Regions from separate parts of the Homo sapiens genome. Here all the other regions are linked to region 2. Evidence: promoter capture Hi-C in 16 types of primary human blood cells and fetal thymus (Javierre and others, 2016). All regions are on one chromosome and are shown on one strand. The core of a region is centred on a gene start or on the middle of the fragment in contact, and the rest is flanking DNA. Distances in the headings are between cores, read along the strand shown. Region 1 holds the start of COPB1 (coat protein complex I subunit beta 1). Region 2 holds the start of BMAL1 (basic helix-loop-helix ARNT like 1). Region 3 has its middle 5.0 kb from the start of MICAL2. Region 4 overlaps MICAL2 (microtubule associated monooxygenase, calponin and LIM domain containing 2).

Region 1 (3,707 bases), core at 165-2,664, 1.2 Mb after region 2:
AATACATGTTTATTCCAGTGTTCACCTAATTGTTTGGGTGGGTAATCCAAAGAACAAAGTTCTTTTGGTTTTACAAGCTAAGTAACATGAAGTTAAGTGCACGATGGAATTAAGATATTCCAATACACATCCTCAACCTGTTGCCTAGAGAAAATAATCAGCCACATTAATATATTGAAGTCTACAAAAATTATGACATTTTGAGGAATATCTAAACTATTACAATTTCTTTAGGTTTACTAAGATAAACTGAGATGTTCTATTTCAAACAACCAATATTTAAAGAAGTTCGCATTTTTAATAAAAGGTCTATCGAAGAGATCCTAGAAAAACTTTAGACAAAAATTAAGCATTTCTAATTATAAAGGAATATGAAATATGAGTTTTTTATTTTTGTTTTTTCTTTTTTCATTTCATTCTCAAAATAATATCGAAGTTTACCTAGATCATTTTTTAAGCTAATTTCAGATGGTGGTTCTGAATCCATTGGCACGTTAATTAACGTGTAGCATACGTTCTCAGCCGCCGTCATGGTTTCTGGTTATATTATAACCAATCCTTGACACAAGATTTAAGGATGCCAGAAAATCTAGAAAAATAAACACAGACATATCATTACAAATTAAAAAAAAAAAACCCACAAACAAGTACCTATAGTGACCTTTTAAAGTATTAGAAAGGGCAGGTCAATCTATATCGTGTTCCCATAAAAATAAATTCTAGTAAAAACCACATTATCAGCTCTGGCATAAGGTATATTATCTATCACTCCCTCATCGCATCCCGGTCCAGTGTTTGAGAATGCTGTATAGCCGAATGAAGGCCCACAGAACAGTGACAGTCCCCCCAGCCACACCCCACAATGTTATGGACCGTATGGTTTTTACACAACACACAATCTGCATGCTCAAGTTAAGAGACCTTGTGCCTGAATACTCTGCCAAAACCCTAAAGCGCTTTATCGCGGTCCTTGGTGGGTTCCGACTCTATGTCCGCGGGTCCCTTAATCAACGCGCTGCACCCCCACCTCGCCCCACCCGCTTCCTCCTCCCCTTCCTCCAGCAAAGCAGCCCTAGGCCTGAAAGGGTACGCCTAGGGGTCTTGGGAGGGAAAAGACCCCCGGCCAATACAAAGGACGGGATGGAGCGTCCGACCCGGAGCTTCCTAGCCCTCCGCCCCCACCCCGACCCGCACCCCCACCCGTACCCCCACCCGGTCCCTTCTGCCAGGCCCAGACGCAAGCGGCCTAGTCGCTCCCCTTCCGCATCTTCCAGCTAGAAAGCCAGTTCTTCCGACTCTGCCCGACCCACCACGCCTCTGGGACTGGGGGCTTGTGGCCCACTACCAGGCTCCGAGGGGCAGTGGTTTGGTGCAGCCGCGGATCCGTCTACTGCGGCTCCGTCTACTCCGGCTATGAACCGCAGCAGCGGCGGCGGCGGCTCCAGAGTCCTTGGCTGACGTGGAAGGGGGTGGGGTAACGACCGAAGCCACAGCCACCTAGCACCTACGGCGACTCAGAGAGGACATGCTTTCTTTGTGCAGCGCTTGCGCGCTGCAAGTATATCCTATTTTCTTCCTCTTCTCTTGTCCAGGGTTTGATTAGGCCGCAGAGCAATGAAACCACGTATTTTCTAGTTTTCCCTGCAAGCCAAGCTCTGAGTTAAGCACTATGCTAATTTAAACGCTAACTGGAAATCGTTCCTTCTTCAGGAACAGTCAAGGGGAGAAAGTGCTTGGAGAGAGGGAAACTTTTACAGGGCTCTGTTCCCGTGAAAAAGAGCTCTGGACTAGAAAGTGGAAACCCAGTAATCCTTTTTCTTGTCCACACCCTAATAAACTGGGAAAGTAACTAATACTATTGGGAAGGTAATTCAGTTATTTTATTAATTATCACTAGATTAAAATCCATTTCAGTTCTTAACATCGCTAGTAGTTTGAATCTGCCTCTCTGCAGGTAGGGCTGGAGTTATTTGAAAATCCAAAGTCACATTGGTATAATTTCTGCTTTTTATTTAATAATGGCCTCTTTCCGTGATCCTTTCTGAGCACCCAGTAGATTAGAAAAAATTTTTATGCATAAAGGGAGACAGTCACTGTTTTAAAGGATTTTACGTATCTCCAAAGACCTGTTACAGCTGCAATCAGCCATAGTACTTTCGGTTTTGCCCATTTGAAGTTCCATAGCACGCCCCGCCCCTACACCTCCCTCTGCCCACAAAAGGGTTTTATGGCCAATTATTAATAACAAAATATCTTAAAGCTTAAGCAAAATACTGCGAATAAAAACAGATCTGACGGCAACTGCCCTAGTTAACAGGTTCATCTCAGGAAGATGGAACACCAATAGTACCTCATTTATGTAGGATCTAGCTCTTTTGAGCTTTCTCTTTTTAGAACCATCAAGCAATCTACAAATTCTTTGAGCACCCAAAATTGTATTCAAAGGCCATGTGTTGACAGCACTTTAAGAGTGCCTCTCTGATTCTGTGCATTCATTTTTTTTAATATTTAATCTTAATGGTAGAGTGACATGAATACAGAGATCCCATATACTCTTTACCTAGTTTCTCCCAATGGTAACATCTTGCATAGTTATAGTACAATATCAATTTCAGGAAATTGACAGACATAATTCACCCAGCCTTGTTCAGACTTCACTAGTTTTACATGTACTCGTTTTTATATTCACTTGTAGACAATTTTATCATGCTTATATGTGTGTAATCACCAACACAGTCGAGACAGAACAGTTCTATCACAAGGATTCTCATGCTGTCCTTTGATAGCCATAGCCACCTCCCACACTAACCTGTGGCAACCACTAATAATTCTCTATGATTTTTATCATCTCAATGTTATATAAATGGAATTATACAATGTAATCTTTTGAGATTGGATTTTTTTACTGAGCATAATTCCCCTGAGATCAATCCCGGGTGTGTGTACAACAGTTTGTTCCTTTTCTGTGTATTCGTTTTTAACATGGAAGTTTTACAAATGCAGTTATCTGGTTTCCAAGCCCACTTAACTTACCAAAAAGTGACAATCTGTCAGCAAGAAATGAGGCCAAAAAAGGTATAAAAACTAGATTTACAGTAAGAAAGCTCAGTTTAGGGCCATCATGGTGTAGGACTTAAACCGTACAGACTTCATTTGCCCCAGAGGTTCATTCTGTTACAGAATAACTTTGAGGTTTCTCATGACCCCAAGTCATTAAGTTCTAAATATGAAAAGGCAAGAAAATGTAATGTTTTACATATTACTTTAGTTAGATCTGAACCTACAATTGTCATTGGCAGTGCATATATTTTTCCATATTCTTAAGTACAAAGCTTTTTGAATGGGTATAAGGACCTTAATATTAACCTCATTAACTCTTCCTGATCTGTTGTAAAATACACTTTGTTTGGGCTGTTTTACTCTAAGATGTAATTATATAATTTTGAATGCCTTTAAATTATAAATGCAGAGCAAAGACCTTGTCATTTTATCAAGGACCATAGAAATTGTGGTATCTAAAAAGTCAAGGCCTAGAGAATAGGGACTTGCCCCAAATCATGTAATGGCCAAACACTGAGTTAGAACTAGGACCTGAATCCTGTCATCTACGTTATTATTTTTATTTTTTTGAGACAAGAGTCTCACTCTGTCACCCAGGCCGGAGTACAGCGGCATGATCATAGCTCACTGCAGCCTCAGACTCTGGA
Region 2 (3,242 bases), core at 1-2,500:
CCAGTCTGGGTAACAGAATTAGGCCAATTTATTTAATTCCATTTGTTCATGTATCCAGCCAACAGATATTTATGGTGCACTTGTTGGGTGCCAGCCCCGCCCCCACCACTCCACCCTACCCCAGCAGGCGCTAAAGGAGAGCTGACATGATGGATAACGAAAAAGAAGACGCTGTCCTTCTATTCAGGGAGTTTAACATCTGGAAGAGCCGGGAGTTCTTTGTGCTAAAGGCCCTCTACAAAGTGCCTGAGATGCAAAAATAAGTCACTTTCTCTGTCCTCTCAGCAACCGAGTCGCATGTCGTTATCAAATTTTTATTTTCTGTAACTGTTTCCTTCCGTCTTGCTCCGTAGACAGCTTTTTGCAGCAGAGAGCGCTGCCGCGGGGCTGGTGTCTACTCTTCAGTAAGTGGTCAAAACCTGGCTACTGGAAGGAAATGCAATGGAATCGCTCCGCGCTCGAGTATTCTCTTTGGAACTACGGGAATGACAGCTCCAGTGGGACACTTGGAGGTCATGATGAACGCAAAGAACGTGAGAACACTTGCAGTCCTCGGGGTGGAAATGCCTTCTAGAAATACTAAGTATCCGTTCTCTCGTTGAGACTTTGGCAAACCAGGGATTTTAGGAAGGGTCTGGCACTCAACGTTCCTAAAATTGGTTTCCTAGATGGAGCCGGAGGGAGAGAGGGAGTCAGGAACTGCTGCTTTTCGTCGGAATGCCCGGAGGGGAGAAGAAGAAGGAGGAGGGGTGAGGGCGGGCGGCCAAACGCCAGCCGGCAGGGGACCCAGAGAAGAGGGACATCCCGGGCGACCCCGAGGAGCGCGGCTTGGGCACCGCAGTGGCCGCGGCTAGTGGGAGACCTGAGGGGAAAGGGAGAGGGCAGGGGCGAGGAACCCAGGGAGCGCGCGCGGATTGGTCCTCTCCTCGGGGCGTGCGCTCCTGTGCGCCAAATGATTGGTGGCAGGAAAGTAGCAGGTAAACCGGCTCCCGCCGCCTCGCCATTGGTCAGCGGCCTCTCTAGCCGCCACACAACTGGCCAGCGGGCTGCCGAGCCGCGCGCGGATTGGCTGGGGGCGGCCGCCGGGACCGGCTCCCTTCGGGCGTTCGGATTGGCTGGCGGGAAGAGGCAGGTATCCGGGCGCTGCGGCTCCTCCATTGGTGGGCGGGGAAGGGGGGTTGGGCACAGCGATTGGTGGGCGGGGGGCCGGGCCTGGGCCGGCGGGGAGCGGATTGGTCGGAAAGTAGGTTAGTGGTGCGACATTTAGGGAAGGCAGAAAGTAGGTCAGGGACGGAGGTGCCTGTTTACCCGCGCCGGACTCACCGCCGCCGCCGCCGCGGGATCCGAGTGCGGGCGCGGGCGCGGGCGCTCCCGGCGAGCCACGGTGAGTGTCAGGCCGGCGGCGGCCAGCGACGCGATCCCGCGCACCCCGTCGGGGGCCGTTAGCACCCTCGCGGGCGCTGCGCCCCTGCCGCCGCCCCGGGGGCAACCCGGCCGCCGAAGAACCCTGCCCGACGTGCCCGCTGCCGGCCTTAAAGGGCCCGTGACCGCTCCCTGCCCCCACCCGGGCCGTGGGGAGGCTGCGCCCCTTAAAGGCGCCGCGCCCGTCCGCCCCCATCCTCCTCGCGGGGGCTGCCGCTGCGGGCTAGGGCAGGCAGAGGTGCTGCAGGAGCCCTTAAAGGGGCCGGGAAAGTGTTCGCTGGAGTACCCACCGCCCTTCCGCGGGCATCGCTACCTGGCGGGGGGAGGGGGCAGCTAGCTGCCTCTTAAAGGGATAGCTCTGCCCTTGGGGGCAGTGACTCGGCCGAAGAGGACTCCTAGATGTGTCCCCGGGAGCTTCGGGGATCCCCGAGGGGACCATGCCTGGTGGCTGCCCCTCAAGGGCGTTGGGCGAACGGTGCCGCGTCTGCCCTTCCTCCCCGCTTCACTTCCCTTTCGGGAGCCCGCGAGGCTGGGTGGGGGCGGGGAGGGCGTCTCCGTCGGGCTTGGGGAGTCCAAGTCCGCCCGCCCCTTCGGCCCTGTAGCCAGGGCTGGCGCTGCACCCGGGAATCCCCGGCCGGCACGGGGCCGACCCCAGCCTGCGAACTTTCGTGGGGCCTGTGCCGTCCAGGTCCTGGGCGGCCCTCAAGGATGCCCCGTGGGTCTGCGGGCAGGTGCGCGTCGGCCTGGGGATGTCGCCCGGAGCCCGGGTGCGGGCCGGCCTTGGAGTCCCAGAGCTCCGCGGAGGGCGCAGCGAGCCTGGCTCCAGCTCCGGGTTTGACAGATGTCAGGGAAGAAAAGGTTCCCGCTCGGCTATTGCCGGGCGTTGACATCCCAGAGAGCTTCCCGTTTGCTTGGAAGAAGACGAGGAAGGTAGAGGTGAACGTCGACCTTGTGGGGCGCATGTTAGCCTCCCCGAGGGGTCGCGAGAGCCGGCAGCGGGGTGAGCTCAGGTGCCCGCCGGCAGGAGCTGGGGAGGGAAGGGGAGTGCTGGACACCGGCGCCTGCTGTCAAGTTCTCGCCGGCCGGTGAGAGACCCGCTGCCGCCGCGCACCCCGCACCTCCTGACCCCTCTCCCCTCTCCGCCTCGGCCCCTTCCCGGTCACCTAGCGTTGTTTTGGCGCTTTGGCGCTTGCGGTCTCTTCCTTCTTCCACCGCTACTCCTCAGCGAGGAATTATTAGCCAAGTTTTCTCACCCAGCTTCCAAAAATCAGATTCCGTATTTGTGAACAAGCTTTTCTTGACACTACCCGTATACCCGTATTTCCAGCATCGTCGTTTTATTAAACATCCATAAAAGCTGCCCCTTAGATGCATTCATTTCCCACGACACCTGCTTGCTTGTCATTTGTCCTTCTGACATCTGCTGTTGTTCACCCCTTTAATCTATTATTAAATGACAACTATTATTTTAATTCTTCTGGTCTCATTGATATCCGGATCTGTGAATTTGGGTTGGTGGAGTTTTTAATTAATGTACCCGTTGAATCATGAGCTTAAAATAATCATTGCTGCTCCTGAGCAGTTTTGAATAATATCATGCTCTCTCTGCTTGCAAGACTTAAAAAAATTCGCTGGTGTTATATTTGATTTCCATATCAATGGAATTCCCAAATATTTTTGAAAATACAAAATTCAGTCTTTCAGTCCATGTTTTGTTACTCAGATCATTTTACTGATAAGTCTTTAACGCAGCTTATAGAACATATTTAGAAGGTTTGGAAATTTCCTGGACAGGATTTGAAATTGCCTGTATCATCTGA
Region 3 (3,428 bases), core at 552-3,051, 1.2 Mb before region 2:
AAATCAACTGCCTGTGCTAGATCTACCTGACATATGTATACATGTCCTTCCTCCCTTCCTAACTGCTCTCAGTGTTCACTCAGGTGTTCCCCCTCTCCCATGCAGCCCAGGTGTCTCAGGGAAGCTGAGTCCACCCCAGCTCTAGGAGGGGGCCTTGACTGGCATGGACAATCAGCACATTCCATTCCTCTGGCTATGGCACCAGTTCAACTGGGCATGTGACCCACTCCAATCCGATGAAGCTCAGGACCATGCTTGGAATGCTGGGCCAGAAATATTCTTTTGGATAAGGAAGCGTGTGGCAATGAGAGCAATGACACTTGCTACCATGAGGAAAACCAGTCTGAAGAGAAGCTGACAGAGAGGAGGGCAGAGCTGAGACAACTGCAGAGTAAGGTGGCTGGAGCTTTCACCCCTGCAGTCTTCAGTTATAGGAGTTTCTTTCTCTCTTTCTCTTCTTGTGGTCAGGTTTCCTCCATTGCACCTGGCACACAATTCTTGGTAGCCCTAAGTTTCATGGAAAGAGAGCCTCTCTCACTGTGTATCTACACACTGGTCTTAACGAATTCTGCTTGGACCAGGCGCTTGGCTGTTGGACTGTTCACCATGGGGGCTTGATGTTTCACCAGGCCTGGGAACTGTGTCCAGTTCTGTAGCCAGGAGGGCAGGGATGTTACCAAAACAAGGAGGAATGGAGGAGCTGGCCAGTTCATTCCCTCCTCCACATACAACAACTAGCTTCCACAGTCCCCTGTGTGGTTCTTGCCACCTCTCTAGCTTCATCTTGGATTACTTTCATGTTCTATTCCCTGCTGCATCCCCTCCACTAAGAATAATGCATGGAAGATGGCAGGCACTCAGTCAGCATCTGCTCAATGAATGAAGGAAGGAATCTCTTGCAGTTCCTGGCTCTGCCCCTCATCCCTGATTCCGTGTTTCAGTTGCTGCCTGTCCTGAGCGCTCACCATACTCCTTCCCATCTGCCTGCCACTCATCTCTCAAGGCTCAGTGGAAGGGATGCCACCTCTGTGAAGTCTTCCCACTCCCCTCAGCCTCCTCGCTGTCCCCCAGCACCCCAGATAGATCTGGGGAGGCAGTATTGGGAATTGTAAAGAGCACGGGCTTGGAAGTCCACCAATTCGATTCATTTTGCCAGATGCTGGCCCCTAGGAGACTCTGGGCCAGTGATTTCACTTCTCCAAAATCCCATTTTCTCATCTCTAAGGAGTGGATGAAAATAGTACCTGCCTTTATAACATACACACAAGTCTGAGGCTGGGGACTAGGCAAGTCCCTGACCAGGAGTTGCTTACAGAATTGATGCCTCCTACAGACTCTAGTTCTCCATACCCTTAGTGGTATCATCACCAAGTATATTTACTCACAAACCCTTACATATGATTTATTATGTGCCTGGCGCTGTTCTAGCATGCATCTCCCCATTACTATTCCCCTACTACCTGCTGCACAAGGAGGTTAACTCCCTTGCTCAAGGTCACACAGTTAATAAGTGGCAGAACTGGGATTCAAACCCAGTCATCTTGACTTCAGAGTCTGTCCTATTAATAGCTTGGCTATGACACCTCCAGCCTAACTGCACTGTACATATTTCTGGGGTGGACACATGATGGGTGGATAGACAGATGAACTTGATTGAGTTCCCTCCTTGGACTAGAACAGAGAAGAATATTCCTGTCCTTGCCTCTAGCCAGCTGTTCTGGGAAGGGTTTGGAAGTACAAGTTGAAAGCTGTCTCCCAAGATCCATCAGTTACAGCAGTTCTGGAATGGGCTTCGGGTTTATGTGGACAGGAATCTGCCCAGGCTGCAGGTGTGGCCCAGCCTGCCATGAGGGTGCTCTGGGTTTTGTGGCATCAGTTGATCTCTAGAGGTCAGAATTATGTTATGCCCCTGGAATTCACAATTGTCTGTGAATCCCCAGTCTATCTGGGGCTAAAGCTAGACTACTTACATGACCCTATGTTTCTTCCCCTCTCTTCTGCACACCCACTCCATCGCTGTTTGCTCTGGTTGCTACATCTGGCTGGGATGTCACCTCCTGCCTGCAGCCACAGCTCTTTGCTCTCCAGCACTGACTTTCTCACCATTGCTGGCAACGTGCACACATTCACCAAAGTGCTGGGGTGCCTCCGAGGGCATTACTGACTTCAGCAGGTCCCAGACAGGTGCCATTTTTCTCTAAACCACCTCTGGAAAAGCCACTTAAAGCGAGGTAGGCCTGATGAGTTTTTAGTGACCTTGAAAACTTTTAGATGTTTTATCCGTGAACAAGCGGTTTGTTCTGAGGACTATAAAGATGATGAAGAGCTTGAACAAGGCCCCAGGGATCTTGCTTCTCACATACTGCTGAGTCTGTCTGTGGGAGATACAAATGTTTCCACTTCCTGGCTTAGAAAGTCCTCCAAGGACAGCTCCCAAGGTGCCCGGGGCCAATCAGCCCTTTCTCATCATTTAACCAGGTCACTGGACTCTGTCTAGATACCAGCCTTCCTCTTCCTTCCGAAAGACCAAAGCACTTTGATAGCAGCTTGGGGAGGAAGCCAGTGAGAACCACACTCACTGTTTTGCCCTTCTCTGGAATCTATGGCCTTCAGGAAGAGATCCAGAGCCCGGTGCAACTGTCTTCTCTGCCATTCAAATATCTTGAGGGGCACCCTGGCTTCATTACAGAAAATCTCCATCAGGAGTCCACTTAGTTCAACTCTGACCTCTCTTCAAGCATATTGCTAGGCTGGAAATAAAAGGAAGCCAGAACTGCCACCCCCACAGTCCTCTGAACACAATCAGGTGGATAAACGATGATGCCCGCGAGCACCAGCTGGGTTCTTTCAGGGGGAGGCATGCATAGTGCTGTGGAGGCCATTGCTTCCGTCTGAGATGAAGCTATATTTAGGGATGAATCTGGGCCTTCCTTCTCTTCCTCCCTCTCGTGCTAAGTGGCCATCTGCATCTCCCAGACAACCTCCACAAGCAGCATCCTGGAAAAGTGGCCTGGGGAAGAGGTGGCTATTAAATATAGACTATTGAGCCTGCTTCATAAAGATATTGAGTTAGTTTGCCTGTCATGCTAAGAGTGAGAAAGGGACATTGCATGCCTGGAACACACTTATTCACTCACTCTGTGACCATCAGAAGCATCCTTCTATCTCTGGGCCTCCATTTCTTTCCTTTTCTTTTCTTTCTTTTTTTTTTTTTTTTTTTGTTGTTGTTGTTGAGATGGAGTTTTGCTCTTGTCGCACAGGCTGGAGTGCAGTGGTGCGATCTCGGCTCACTGCAACTTCCACCTCCTGGATTCAAGTGATTCTCCTGCCTCAGCCTCCTGAGTAGCTGGGATTACAGATGCACACCACAATGCCCAGCTAATTTTTGTATTTTTAGTAGAGATGGGGTTTCACCATGTTGGCCAGGC
Region 4 (3,373 bases), core at 22-2,521, 1.1 Mb before region 2:
ATTTGATCTGGATCCTGATGGGTAGTTGCAGTGCAGATGGATAAGTTGGGAGTAAGAAGAGAGCATCTCTAGTGGGTGTTGAGGCCAAGAGAAATGGGGAATTGCCTGCTTTGAAGGTGGGCAGCGGGAAATGAGGCTAGGCAGGTGAGTTTAGGACAGATGCAAAGAGGCTTTAATGAGAGAGAGATTGAGTTGGAGTGTGTTTAACTTCAGAACAGGGATGGGAGGATGAAGGCCCAGGGTCTCACAGGGAACTCTTGTAAATCTCAGGAAGATAGGCAAGAAAGGGTCTAGCTCCAGGACATTTCAGTCTAGGCATCTCTAGCCTCCAGCCTCCTGGAGCCATTCTTTCACCATTGCTCTATGGGGACATTTTCTTCTTAGGCATTTTACATGTCTGCTCATTCATTCATTCAGCAGGTATTTATGAGCTCTTACTCTGTGGCAGGCACTGCTCTCAGTGCTGGGTTGCAGCAGGGAAAAAAACAAAACAAGATAACATCCCTTGCCACATTCCCAGAAGGGGAGAGGGACAATAAACAAGTGAGCTAAATGCGTGGGAGGCCAGGTGATGAGAGGTATGGTGGAGAAAATCAAAGCAGGGAAGGAGATGGTGTGTGCTGCATGGAGAGGGGAGCAGCTCGGGGAGGGCTGTAATTTTAAACAGAGTGGTTAGAGAAGGTTTCACTGACTCACCCTGTCACTGGGACTTTGGGAGCACAGGGAAGGAGGCAAGGCCAGATCCTACTGGGATCTTGAGCCCACAGTTGATCCTCTTCGACCTGTTGGGGGTCTTTGACTAGGCAGTAGGGAGTCTTTGAGTGCTCTTGAGCAGAGGAGTGACATGTGTGGGGAGATCTCCCTAGTGGCTTTGTAGGGGATAGGATATTGGCGGCTGAGACAGGGGAGCAGAGATTCAGGAGGAGATGACCACTGTAGACTAAAAAAGTCTACTCATTTGACACTTTCCTCACTGTGCTGCAAGCTCCACATCTGTAAATGGAGATAAAATGGTACTTACCATTTCAGGCACGTTTTCAAGAGGATGAAGTGGGTTACTGAATGTAGAATACTTAGACTAGCACCTGACATATAATAAGTGCCTAAAAATATTGTCTTGCTCTACTATCTGTCCCTCTGTCTGCATATACGTATGTGTGTGTAAAATTAATGTGTTAGGGACATCCTTTCTTGTCCTGAAGCCAAGTCAAATGAAGAAAATAATGGCGCTTTTCAGGATTAAATGAGATCATCCATGTTGTGGGTGTAGGTTAGTGGCAGATGAAAACCAGGTGAATACTAGTTAAAAGTACTACTGTTACCACCAGATCTTACCTTGAAGAAAATGATTTTGCAATGGAAATCCTTTGTAAAGTCTTCCTATTTAACAGTTGTTTATCAAGACTGCAACATGCCAGGTGCTGCACTAGACACATCCCATTTCATCTTTGCAATAACTGCCCAAGATAATAAGTGTTAACCACATCTTACAGATGAGGAAGCAGAAGCCCTGGACTAAGACTTGACAAGGTCACATAGCTGGTAAATGGCAGAGCTGGGATTAATCCATGAGTGTTCCATTGTGTAAATGTAAACATTGACATATAGGTTCTCATATCAGTCTCCCTTGGTATTAGGTACCCACAAAGAGGTGCAGGGAGAGCAGAGGCATGGCCAATTTCCAGGACAGATCGGGGCAGTGTGAATGTAGTGGGGAAAGCATGGGTGGGAGACACTGTGGGTGAAACAGTACCTTTCTTCAATGACTCAGCCCTGCAGGCTTTATCAGAGCCTTTCAGCCACCCTCTCAGAGTCTATCTGAAACCCATTTTGGTTTCCCAAAAGGAGCAGAGCCTGACAAGTTCAAATCCTGGCTCCAGCACTTACCAGCCATGTAAGTCCAAGATAGAAGTCAATTTCTTTGTGCCTCAGTTTTGTCATCTGCAAACTTGCTTCATAGGGTTGTTATGAGAATATCAGAGAAGCTATGTCAACACTTAGAACAGTGCCTGGCCCATAGCAAGCACTCTGAAAGAGTTATTATTATGTTAACAATTCTTATATTATTTTTATATTATAGTATTATTGTAAGTGCCTTCTTAATCTCTGAGGTCAGGGTAGAATGTCCATCCTCTCTGCAGGATCATTCTGTAACACATTCTGTTTTGCCTTATTATATAGATGTGGGTGTAGGTCTCCCCTTTACAAGACCATGAATAGAATTCAATCAGCATCTTTCTAAAATCCCTGAAGACTTGTGCCTTGTCCTAGAAGCTGTCAATAGAGACTTGGGCCAAAAGAAGTGATTCTTGGTTTTCTTTTACCCTTCAAGCCACATATTCTGACCTGAAGACCCCACCTCTCAGGATTTGGAAAATGTCTGATATTTCCAAAGGTGCTTTACAGTTTGCCAAACACATTCCCATTCATATTTCATTTGGTCTTCACAGTTACCCTGTGCGGTTACTGGGTACTGTCCCCATTGAACAGGTCAGGAGACTGAGGCTCTGCAGGGTTGAATAACTTGCTCCAAAACGTGCAAGTGGAAGGTAATGAAACACGCACCCCCCTTCCTATCCCAGAAAGCTTTGTTCTGGAGTTTCAGATTGACTCTTCCCCTAAAGCCATTCATCATTTCCCCCTTAGCCCTTTTCCTAAAGAGGACTGGGAGGAGGTCATGTGGTGACCAGCCGACCTTTATACAATTCTACTCTGTTTCTTCTTCTTCTTCTTTTTTTTTTTTTTTTTTTGGTGGTCCTCAATTACGTGGACAGTTTTTCATTTGTTTTTCTCTTAATTTTATGATTCATTTATTTATATGAGACAGGGTCTCACTCTGTCACCCAGGCTGGAGAGCAGTGGTGGGATCATAGCTCACTGCAGCCTCAACCTCCTGGGCCCAGATGATCCTCCCAGTTCTGCCTCTGGAGTAGCTGGGACTTCAGGTGCACGCCACCATGCCTGGCTAATTTTTTCTTTTGTTTTTAGTTGAGACAGGGTCTCCCTGTGTTGCCCAGGCTGGTCTCAAACTCCTGGACTCTAAGTTATCCTTCCATCTTGGCCTCCCAAAGTGCTGGGATTACAGGCGTGAGCCACTGCGCCCAGGCTATACAATTCTACTTTCACCCTTTGTTCCCAGGTCTTGTTACTCCCGAACTAAGCACATGGTGATGGCTTTGAGCAGAGCTGATTATTGGAGTTGCTCAAATCATCCCCACTCCATTGTCCCTTCTCTGTGGATCTGAGGTCTGGGCTGGGACTCAGCATTTGGAACTTGGTGGGGAGTGGGAGACAATGGGGGAGAGCATTGTAGCTTGAAGCATTTGCAGTGCCTGAGTATGAAATTGTCCTGAGCATAAATGTGCCATGAGGG

Evidence for each region. The method cuts DNA at HindIII sites, captures the fragments that hold promoters and counts their contacts. A CHiCAGO score of 5 or more calls a contact.
Region 1: the fragment with the promoter of COPB1 here is called in contact with the fragment with the promoter of BMAL1 in region 2 in 1 of 17 cell types (fetal thymus); the score reaches 6.1 in fetal thymus.
Region 3: a fragment that was not itself captured here is called in contact with the fragment with the promoter of BMAL1 in region 2 in 1 of 17 cell types (fetal thymus); the score reaches 5.8 in fetal thymus.
Region 4: a fragment that was not itself captured here is called in contact with the fragment with the promoter of BMAL1 in region 2 in 1 of 17 cell types (M2 macrophages); the score reaches 5.2 in M2 macrophages.

What each region holds. Positions count from the first base shown.
Region 1 is chr11:14,498,397-14,502,103 of GRCh38, forward strand. COPB1 (coat protein complex I subunit beta 1) reads right to left here and starts at 1,415. Exons shown (of 22, transcript NM_001144061.2): 1 at 1,311-1,415; 2 at 442-589. The coding sequence starts at 532. RefSeq lists an enhancer at 1,537-1,636. The HindIII fragment of the contact is 3,446 bases long and covers 1-2,258 here.
Region 2 is chr11:13,276,540-13,279,781 of GRCh38, forward strand. BMAL1 (basic helix-loop-helix ARNT like 1) reads left to right here and starts at 1,251. Exons shown (of 20, transcript NM_001297719.2): 1 at 1,251-1,384. RefSeq lists silencers at 852-1,501, 1,572-1,641, 1,922-2,261. The HindIII fragment of the contact is 3,232 bases long and covers 1-2,711 here.
Region 3 is chr11:12,103,841-12,107,268 of GRCh38, forward strand. No RefSeq gene overlaps it. Among named protein-coding and RNA genes, the nearest start is that of MICAL2, 5.0 kb to the right of the region's middle. RefSeq lists an enhancer at 1-396. The HindIII fragment of the contact is 5,348 bases long and covers 1-3,428 here.
Region 4 is chr11:12,126,906-12,130,278 of GRCh38, forward strand. The region is part of intron 1 of MICAL2 (microtubule associated monooxygenase, calponin and LIM domain containing 2); the gene reads left to right. Among named protein-coding and RNA genes, the nearest start is that of MICAL2, 18 kb to the left of the region's middle. The HindIII fragment of the contact is 2,625 bases long and covers 1-2,584 here.